2 separate regions of the Homo sapiens genome follow, and region 1 is linked to region 2. The links are contacts of gene promoters, found by promoter capture Hi-C in blood cells and fetal thymus (Javierre and others, 2016). All regions are on one chromosome and are shown on one strand. Each heading gives the region's core, a stretch centred on a gene start or on the middle of the fragment in contact. The rest is flanking DNA. Distances are from core to core; before and after follow the strand shown. Region 1 overlaps EDC3 (enhancer of mRNA decapping 3). Region 2 holds the start of RPP25 (ribonuclease P/MRP subunit p25).

Region 1 (4,653 bases), core at 108-2,607, 300 kb before region 2:
ATGTCCCTCAACTTACAATGAGTGTTATCCCAATAAACCCATCATAAATTGAAAATATCTAAGTTGAAAATGCATTTAATACACCTAACCTACCAAACAAACATCATAGTTCAGCCTAGCCTACCTTAAACCTGCTCAGAACACTTACACTAGCCTACAGTTGGGCAAAATCATCTGGCAAAACAGTACACTGTAGAATACTGGTTGTTTACTCTCATGACTGCACGGCTGACTGCTTTGACTCCTGCTGCTGCCCAGCATTAGAGAATATCATACCTGCATATCGCTAGCTCAGGAAAAGATCTAAATTAATAATTTCAACTACAGTTTCTACTGACTATTGCTTTCACATCATCCTAGAATCAAAAAATGATAAGTCTAACCATTGTAAGTTGGAGGATCATCTGTAGTCTATTTGCCATTAAACTGCCCTTCTCTTCTTATATTTTTCCTTTTTTTTTTTTTTGAGACAGAGTCTCGCTCTGTCACCCAGGCTGGAGTGCAGTGCTGCGATCTCCGCTCACTGCAAGCTCCGCCTCCCAGGTTCACGCCATTCTCCCGCCTCAGCCTCCCAAGTAGCTGGGACTACAGGCGCCCACCACCATGCCCGGCTCATTTTTTTGTATTTTTAGTAGAGACGGGGTTTCACCGTGTTAGCCAGGATGGTCTCCATCTCCTGACCTCGTGATCCACACGCCTCAGCCCCCCAAAGTGCTGGGATTACAGGCATGAGCCACTGCGCCTGGCCTTTTCCTCATTTTTATTCACATTTAGAAGAGAAAAGGAGATGTGATGGGTAAGGTTTTTGTGTTTTTTTTTTGAGACAGGGTCTGACTCTGTCACCCAGGCTGGAGTACAGTGGCATGACTTTGGCTCATTGCAGCCGCAACCTCATGGGCTCAGACGCTCCTACTTCAGCCTCCTGAGTAGCTGGGACTACAGGCACATGCCACCGTGCCCAGCTAATGTTTTCTATTGTTTGTAGAGACAGGGTCTCACTTTGTTGCCCAGGCTGGTCTTGAACTCCTGAGTTCAAGCAATCCTCCCACCTTGGCCTCCCGAAGTGCTGGGATTACAGGCATGAGTCACTGCACCTGGCCAATGGAAAACCCTTTACCAGCTGGGCGTGGTGGCTGACGCCTGTAATCCCAGCACTTTGGGAGGCCAAGGCAGGCAGATCACTTGAGGCCAGGAGTTTGAGACCAGCCTGGCCAACACGGTGAAACCTCGTCTCTACTAAACATACAAAAATTAGCCAGGCATGGTGGCAGGTGCCTGTAATCCCAGCTACTCAGGAGGCTGAGGCAGGAGAATCGCTTGAACCTGGGAGGTAGAGGTTGCGGTGCGCTGAGAGCTGAGATCACGCCACTGCACTGCAGCCTGGATGACAAAACAAGACTCTGTCTCCAAAAAAAAAAAAAAAACCTTTACCTCTCTGGGCCTCATGTCCTCATCTGTAAAATGAAAAAATCATACTAGGTGATCAACTAACCTAACACTAACATTTTATGCTTTTAGACTGTTTCCCTATATATTCTAGTTTGCCTTTTTTGATCCAAACATTTGGATAGCAGATCCAATGGAGAAAGTGTCCCCAGCTCTGCACTGACTGCCCCTCAGTGAAAACCTGCTTGAGGATTGTGCCTTGGAACTCGAACACAGAGAAAACCCCCCTGTAGAAGAAGTTGCTCAGTAAGATAACTGCCTGCTTGCTCTATTTCCAGCACAGACGCTGCTTGGCAAAAGGGCTTCCTTTCCACTCCTTGTCACTGTTAAGAACAAAGAGAAAAACCAGATGGCATGAAGCTGCTGGGCTTCTTTCCCCCTCATTGTCATGAACCAGTGGAGTGCAACTGGTCACTACATACCACAAGACGCCACACCCAAGTTTCTGGCTAAGGACCAGCACATGTGGTTTGTGGTATGTTTATTGATAGGAAAATAATTTTATATGACAGAACTTTTCACTTCAGTCATTAAAAACAAAAGAAGTGTGAAGATCAAGTTGGGGAGCCAGAGTGTGTAGCAGAAAAAAATTTCTACCTCTGCTTTTGTCCATGTTAGTAAATATTTTCTCATGCTCTGTTAGTTCTGAGAATTCTCCCTGATTCTCACTGTTATTCTCACTCTTAGCCACTTGACTCCAGGGCAGATCATAATCTTCCCAAGTTAAAAAAATCCTGCAGTGTAGGGCTGGGCGCGGTGGCTCACACCTGTAATCCCAGCGCTTTGGGAGGCCAAAGCAGGTGGATCACGAGGTCAGGAGTTCAAGACCAGCCTGGCCAACATAGTGAAACCCCATCTCTACTAAAAATACAAAAAAATTAGCCAGGCATGGTGGTGTGTACCTGTAGTCCCAGCTACTCAGGAGGCTGAGGCAGGAGAATCGCTTGAACCCAGGAGGTGGAGGTTGGCAGTGAGCAGAGATTGCGCCATTGCACTCCAGCTTGGGCAACAGAGTGAGACTTCGTCTCAAAAAAAAAAAAAAAAAATCCTGCAGTGTAAATAGTTCCAGGGAAATCACACGCTGCATAAACCAACAGCCTCAGCAGCAGCACTTGGACTACAGATATAGAGAGCTAGCAGCAGGAGCAGCTTCTTTTACAAAGAGGGCAGTAAAAAAGGAAGCAGTCAGAGGTAGATAGTTGGCTGATCTGGAGGAGTACCAGACTTAACAGATGATAACTGCCTTTGAAAGGCTTAAAACCTAGCAATTTAAATTAAACCCGATTCTGAGCTAGGCTGTTTGCCTTTACACAGGTGTTAAAAATCGAAGGACTTCGGCAAGTTACAGTGTCACTGTCACTGCCACTTAAGGAAACCACCTTAATAAACAGGCATGCCTACCAGAATCTGCCAGCAAAAGACTGACACAGTTCAGCAGCTTGTTTTTTTTTTAGCAGTCTTTCTTAGCCTGACAGTTGGCCTATTTTTTTTTTTCACATGGAAAGCACATGCAAGCTACTATACTCAGCGAAACCAAATACAACAGAGTCCTACTATTATCTATAAAAAAAAAGCCATGTCTGGCTTTCCTCCAAATGCAATTAGCTGCGTCCACAGTTCTCCTTATAGCAGCTACCAGCATTCAAGATTTATATTCCTTATATTCCAAACTTCAAACCAAAATAAAAATATTATACTCAATTCCTTCTCTACTTACTAAAATGATTATGACTTCCCCTTTAGCTCTTAGGATCATTCAATAACAATGGTTTTCAAACCATATTCCAAGAGGCCCAGTTAGTAATGTGGTTTGAGGGGAAGGGATGGGACACGGATGTGATGAATTACCTCTCTCACACTGCTTTAATCTGTTTTATATGCCATAGGTTTGAAGAAAAGGTTCTAATGCTAAAAAAAGAAACAATAATCACTGAGGTAATAGAACTAGATTATCATCTACAATGACCTACATAAGGCACTACACTGTTACATGAAATTAGCCAACTTTCAATGTCCTGGGCTAACAGGAGATAAGAACAGCATAGTAAAGAAATGTAATTTATTAAAACTCTATTTTTAGCCAATGATTCCAATCATCCATCTTCAACTGTTTTTTTGCAACAACAAATAATTAGTAAAACAGAGTTGAAGTCTGGTGAAATGTATGGGCAGTAATAGAGAAGCCAAAGTGAAAATAGATCTGAATATTTGAATCTACATAGCAGGCCCTTTGCCTTTAGTTGTTACTCACAGCATACTAAATAAGTGGCAGGCCATATCCTACCAGATACAGGATATACACAGACATCTACAGAAATTACCCCTCCACCATGGCAGAATGCTGTTATTGGCTGCAATCCCCAAGAGACAATAATACCGGGCCAGCCACCAAGCCACTTAAATTAATTCCTAGTGTGAGATTCTGACTCAGAAGCCAGGTCTTTCTGTTTCAAGCATAATAGAAAGGCAACAGCAACCAGCAGGATGTGGGACCTGATGCAACTCACCCGTGCAGAACTCCTTGCTCACGTTGTGGGGCACTATGATCCGTCGATAGACAATGGGCTCGGACTCCAAGATGTTCTCATCATGGCGGTACCGAGTGGGCCTTTCATTTGGGATGCCCCGGGAACGGGTACCACTTCTCCTTTCATAGGTATCAATCTCCTCAAACACAGCTGCCTTGTCAAAAAGAGCCAGGTTCCCTTCAAAATCAAAATCTGTGTCTGGGATCTCCTCAATATCATCCCCGAAGCACTCGTCATCTTTATTCTTCATCTGGCCATTCTTTAAACCACTTTTCTTGGGAGTTGCCTGATTTGGGTGCCTGCTACTAGATGACCCTGGAGAAAAAATAGGGACTAAAGTCAGTGTATCCACAGAAAGCGCTCAGTGAACGTGGAAAATACATTAGTCTTTTGTGGAGAGTGTTACAGGAACCAATGTGAAAATGGTAAAGGTAACTATTGCAAACTCATATTAAGTAGCACAAACAACAAATCTCATGTGCAATAATAGGTTTCAAACATCACCCAATCTGGGCACAGTGGCTCACGCCTATAATCCCACATTGGGAGGCTGAGGCAGGAGGATCGCTTGTGCCTAGGAGTTCAAGGCTGCAGTGAGTGATGATCACGACACTGCACCCCAGCCTGGGCAAAGAGCAAGAATCTGTCTCAAAACACACACACACACACACACACACAC
Region 2 (4,719 bases), core at 501-3,000:
CCCTTTCCCTTAGTGGCGATGTACAGGGGTACACGGGCCCCCATTTGCAACAGCCTCTGAGGCCAGGGCCAGCCCGGGAGGGCGGAGTGGGGGAGGAGAGAGGAAGAAGCCAGGGACTGGGCAGTGCCTTGCACCATTTTGAAGCTGTTCAGTCTCTGTGCCTGACCCTGAAGACTCCAAAGACTCAGGACGCAAGGCTGGAGGGGAGGGGAGACACAAGGGGCCAGGCGAGAGCTGTCTCTGCACAGGCGGGTGGTTAGAAAAAAAATGGGGGACACAGCCATTTTTGTGCTTGTTTTATTGGAAGCAAGACTCCAGCCAGCTGCAGGGCTCAGGGGAGGAGGCCTGGAGAGTTCAGTCCTGGGTCTCCCTCTGGGCCAGCAGGGGGAAAAGGGGTGTTAAAAGAGCTAGAACCCTCAGAGATGCTCCTCTGAAGCAGGGGAAAGAAAACTAGAAAGGAAAACTGTCCCAGGGCGGGGAGCGGAATAGGGCCCCCACATCTCAGACTCTCCTACCCTCAAGCAGTTAATTCTCACCCCCTGCCTTCCTCTGTCAACGGTGGGGGTGATTCCAATAACTCTTCTCAGCTTCCATACTTCAGGTGCTCTTCGTGAATGCTGGGTGGCTTTAACCCTTGGGGGTCCCAAACAAGTTTCCAGAATCCCACTGTCCACCATTCTCCCCCAAAGAAGGTCCCAGAAAAGGTGAAGTTCCGTGTCTTCACGCAACACGGGCATAAGCAGCAATTATCGCACGAAGTTTCCCTAGGGTGGTCGGGGATCCTCTCCTGCCACTCCTGGGGCCCCTCTCTTGTCGCCTTAAGGTCCATGCTACCTGTCTTGAGGAGCTGTGTCCAGGTTGTGGGCTCCGGAGGACCGAGGAGTGAAAGGCTGGAGGTACATCTGAAGGTGGAGGCGCTGGCGGAAGATCCTGCCGGACTAGGTGGCCCACAGTCCGGAGTTTCAGGCCGTCTGATCCTCGTCCGCAACCCCTGGCTCGGGTTGCGATCGCTTCGCGGAGCCTTCTCCAGCTGCGGGTTCCCCTAGGCTCCTCTTGGACGCTGGCGCGGCTGGCGGGGACGAGGGACCAGGATGGGGATTCGGGGGCTGGTAGCCGGGCTGTCGCGGATCCAGCGCGTCCTTGGAAAGTAGGATGGCGAGGCCGGGCACGTTCTTAAGTACGCTGAGACTAGCGGCCGGCTCGCCAGGCGTCTGACCCTGCGTGGGCCCAGGCGGGAGGCTCTGCCACACCTCGCGTACGCTCCGGTAGCGCAGCCGCGTGACCTGGTGCAGGCCCGCCAGGCGGCGCTTGAGGATCTCGGCGCACGTGACGGTTTTGGTGGTGGCCCGGCCGCAGCCGCTGAAGACGATGGCGCGCGTGGCTGGCTGCGCCATGCTGGCGGTGGCGAAGGCCATCAGGTTCCGGATCTTGCTGCCTTCCTTGACCCGCATGTGCACCGCGCCCGGCGCCAGGTCTGCGAAGGGGCCGGAGCCCGGGCCGCCTCCCTCGGCCCCGCACCCCGCTGGCGCCTCTTCGGAGCGCACCTTACGGAAGTTCTCCATGCGCCGTCGTCGCCGGGACCGCCGGCTTTGCCATGGGGCGGCCTCAGCCCCGGGGCTGCATGGCCGCCGGTCGCGCCTTGCAAGGGCCAGCAGGGGTAAGGGCGCCGGAGCAGCGCAGACGCCGGCGGGCGGGCTGGGACGGCGCGATCTCGGCCCCACTTCTCTCGAGCGGGCGCCGCTCTACTCAGCGCTCTCGGCGCCGGGTGCTCCGCGCCTTTAGCTGAGGCCCCGCCCCTGCCGCCAGGCCCCTCCCCTGACCCGGCCCGGCCGGGCCCGCCCGGGCCCCAGCCTCACTAGCCTTTCCTGGCGAGTCTGGGTCCTCAGCTACGCGGGCGTGGGAGCGGGCGCGCTGCGGGGCGCATGAGCAGGTGAAGGTGAAGTTCCACTATAATCGCCATCAGCGCTCTGAGAGCCAACCCTCACAAACCGGCAGTCTAAATAAAAGCTGCGCTTGCCGTGCAAACACTGCTTCAAATCCGGTATCCGAGCCCTTCCCATTTGCAACTGAAGGCCGCCCCTCGTCCCCTCCCAGGGAGAGATTTCCAAGAGGCTTGCTGGGGCCTTGCCCCTCCTCCCCCGCCCCGGGGAACACCCCCACCTTTTTTCCGCTCCCAAGTATTCTTGCCTCAAGGACAGCTAGTGCGCGGTCAGCAGAGTGCGGGAGGAGCTGGCTGCGGCTCCACTCCGCGCCTCCCCGCGGGCGATTACGTCGCGGCGTGGTCCTCGCGGGGCGCGGAAGACCCAGACTTCAGCCTCGCCACGCCTGCCCGGAGCTCGAGGCTCCCGGACCCCCGTCCACCCCTGGGACGTGAGGAGTGAGGCTTTGGGCCAGGCTGTTCCCCGAGGCGCGTGGGGAAGCGGGCGTGACCTCTTCTGAAAAGGCGGTAGGCTCGCTCCACCCAGGCCCTAGAGCCCACCCTTAGAGCTGCGCGCTTTAGGGTGAGCCAGGCACGATGCCTTGCCAACGTGGCCGCCCCCTTCCTCCCAGGCGGAATTCGCTCAGGCAACATTGGCCCCTTGAGATCCAGTGGGGTCCTTTTCGAAAGGAGGCTAGGTGAACGCAGGTTTTAAAAAAGAGAAGGGAGGGGCCGGGCGCGGTGTCTCACGCTTTTAATCCCAGCACTTTGGGAGGCAGAGGTGGGCGGATTACTTGACGTCAGGAGTTCGAGACCAGCCTGGTCAACATGGTGAAACCCCGTCTCCATTAAACGTACAAAAATCAGCTCGGCGTTGTGGCACGCTCCTGTAATCCTAGCTGCTCGGGAGGCTGAGGCAGGACAAGCGCTTGAACCCGGGAGCTGAAGGCTGCAGTGAGCCGAGATCATGCCACTGCACTCCAGCCGGGGCGACAGAGCAAAGCTCTGTCTCGAAAAATGAATAAATTAATTAATTAAATAAAATACAAAAGAGAAGGGAGGGATACCCCATTCTCCAGGATGTGATTATTATGCATTGCATGCCTGTATCAAAACGTCTCATGTACCCTCTAAATATAGACACCTATTGTATACCCACAAAAATTAAAAAGACTTAAAAAAAAATAAAAGAGAGAAAGAAGGGAGGAAGATGGGGAGTTGAAGCCCTGGGGGCATTATGGAACTACTGGATGCCTCTCCGGCGGAAACTCCACGGGACCGAAAGAGAGGCCCGGGGTCTCCTGCCGGGTGAGAGAAGCATTAGAGAAAGATGAGATTGGGGGCTGTCAGGACTACTGATGGAAGGGAGGGGGTCTGAGAAGGGGCCCGACCCTCCCTAAAACTGCTCTCGGGATTCCCCCGTCCTCCTTCCACCCGCCCTACGCAGTCAGGACTGAGAGAGGGCGGCAGATCTGGTCCTAGCCAGGGGACTGTGACGGGGCGTGGCGGGGAGGGACACAGAGAGCTGGGGCGGGCGGGCCACCGGGAAAGTGCTGGGGGCATGACAGTGCCTTGGATTGCTGGGCCTCAGTTGGAGATGGGGCTGCCAGATGCTGTTCTCCCTCCTCCCGCTGTTCTCGCCCTCTGGGCATCTGCAGCAGCTCTCAGTCCCTGCTGTTCAAAACCAGGGTTTACTTCCTTGTCACTTCTTGGGAGCGGCCCTCGGTCCCTGCTGTTCAGAACCGGGATTTACCCTCTTACCACTTCCTGGGAGTGGCTGCGGCGACTGGACCTTGGCACCGCAATGTGTGAATGGCTGACCCCCTCCCCGTCTCCTGGTGGGATCAGGAACCCTCGGGGTATGCTCCGAACCGGGACTTCGGTCTCGGTCCAGTCTCCATGGGCCCCACACAGCGGTGGGGGCTGGAGGCACAGCAGCCTTGGGAAGAAACAAAGACTGTCCGCAGCGCGTAGCGGGGCGTGGAGAACCGAGGGCTGTGTAAGGTCAGGCCCTGAGAAAAAGCCCCCGAAAGGCTGGAAGTTACGTTGGAACGGGCTGGTTGTGGAAGGAGCGAGCTCTCCGTCCCCGGGAGTATGCAAGTTTGGGCTGCACGATCACTTGGAAGGGATTGGGCGGAGTTCTGTCATTTGGAGAAAGGGTCCTGGGAGCTTCAGGTTTGTGTAGGGCGAGGACGGGGCGGTTCTGCGTCCGGCCAGGTTGGCCCTCGAGGACCCAGCCGTCCCCAACCTCCTAAACTGCTGTCGGATGTAGAAGACTCGCATTCACTGCTCTCCACAGTCGGTGAAGGGAGAACGCCGAAAAGGGCCGCATTCCCTCCTGCCGGTCCCCTCCCCTTCCCGCGCTCCCTCTGCAGCACTTAAAATGTAAATGTACATCGTGATTAGCCGCGGGGTCGCTAATTACAGCTGAAGCCATTCATTACACTGTCAGCGCGCGTCGCAGCCCGCCGGCTGTGCGCTCCCTCCTAGCCGTGAAGGGGTGTAGGGGGTGGGGGCGGGAGATGCGGGGAGTGAGGGAGGAAGGATGGGGTGCTGTGAATTAGGGTAATGTGGCAGGCCTGGAGGAAGCTGGAGTGGGAGAGAGCGGGCAGCGAGCGGGGAAAACAGGGTGGGCGGTGAAGGACGGGGCGGGGTGGCGAGGAGAGAGGAGAAACGCGAGAGGCAGGAAGGAATTGGGGCATGAAGTAGTGAGGACACAGGGAAAGGGGCTGTATGAGGGGGGAAACAGCGTAGGGGACAGGGCGAAGGGAGAAAAAGCTGAGAAGAGGGTGGGAACCCCA

Evidence for each region. Contacts are between HindIII fragments. The CHiCAGO score rates a contact against its expected background, and 5 or more counts as called.
Region 1: a contact is called between a fragment that was not itself captured here and the fragment with the promoter of RPP25 in region 2, in 1 of 17 cell types (total CD8 T cells). The highest score is 6.0, in total CD8 T cells.

What each region holds. Positions count from the first base shown.
Region 1 is chr15:74,651,780-74,656,432 of GRCh38, forward strand. It overlaps EDC3 (enhancer of mRNA decapping 3), which reads right to left. Exons shown (of 7, transcript NM_025083.5): 4 at 3,954-4,289. Among named protein-coding and RNA genes, the nearest start is that of CLK3, 38 kb to the left of the region's middle. The HindIII fragment of the contact is 9,021 bases long and covers 1-4,653 here.
Region 2 is chr15:74,955,022-74,959,740 of GRCh38, forward strand. RPP25 (ribonuclease P/MRP subunit p25) reads right to left here and starts at 1,751. Exons shown (of 1, transcript NM_017793.3): 1 at 1-1,751. The coding sequence starts at 1,562. The coding sequence ends at 963. RefSeq lists enhancers at 1-500, 501-1,434, 1,435-2,368, 3,363-3,919 and a silencer at 1,394-2,043. The HindIII fragment of the contact is 5,452 bases long and covers 1-4,719 here.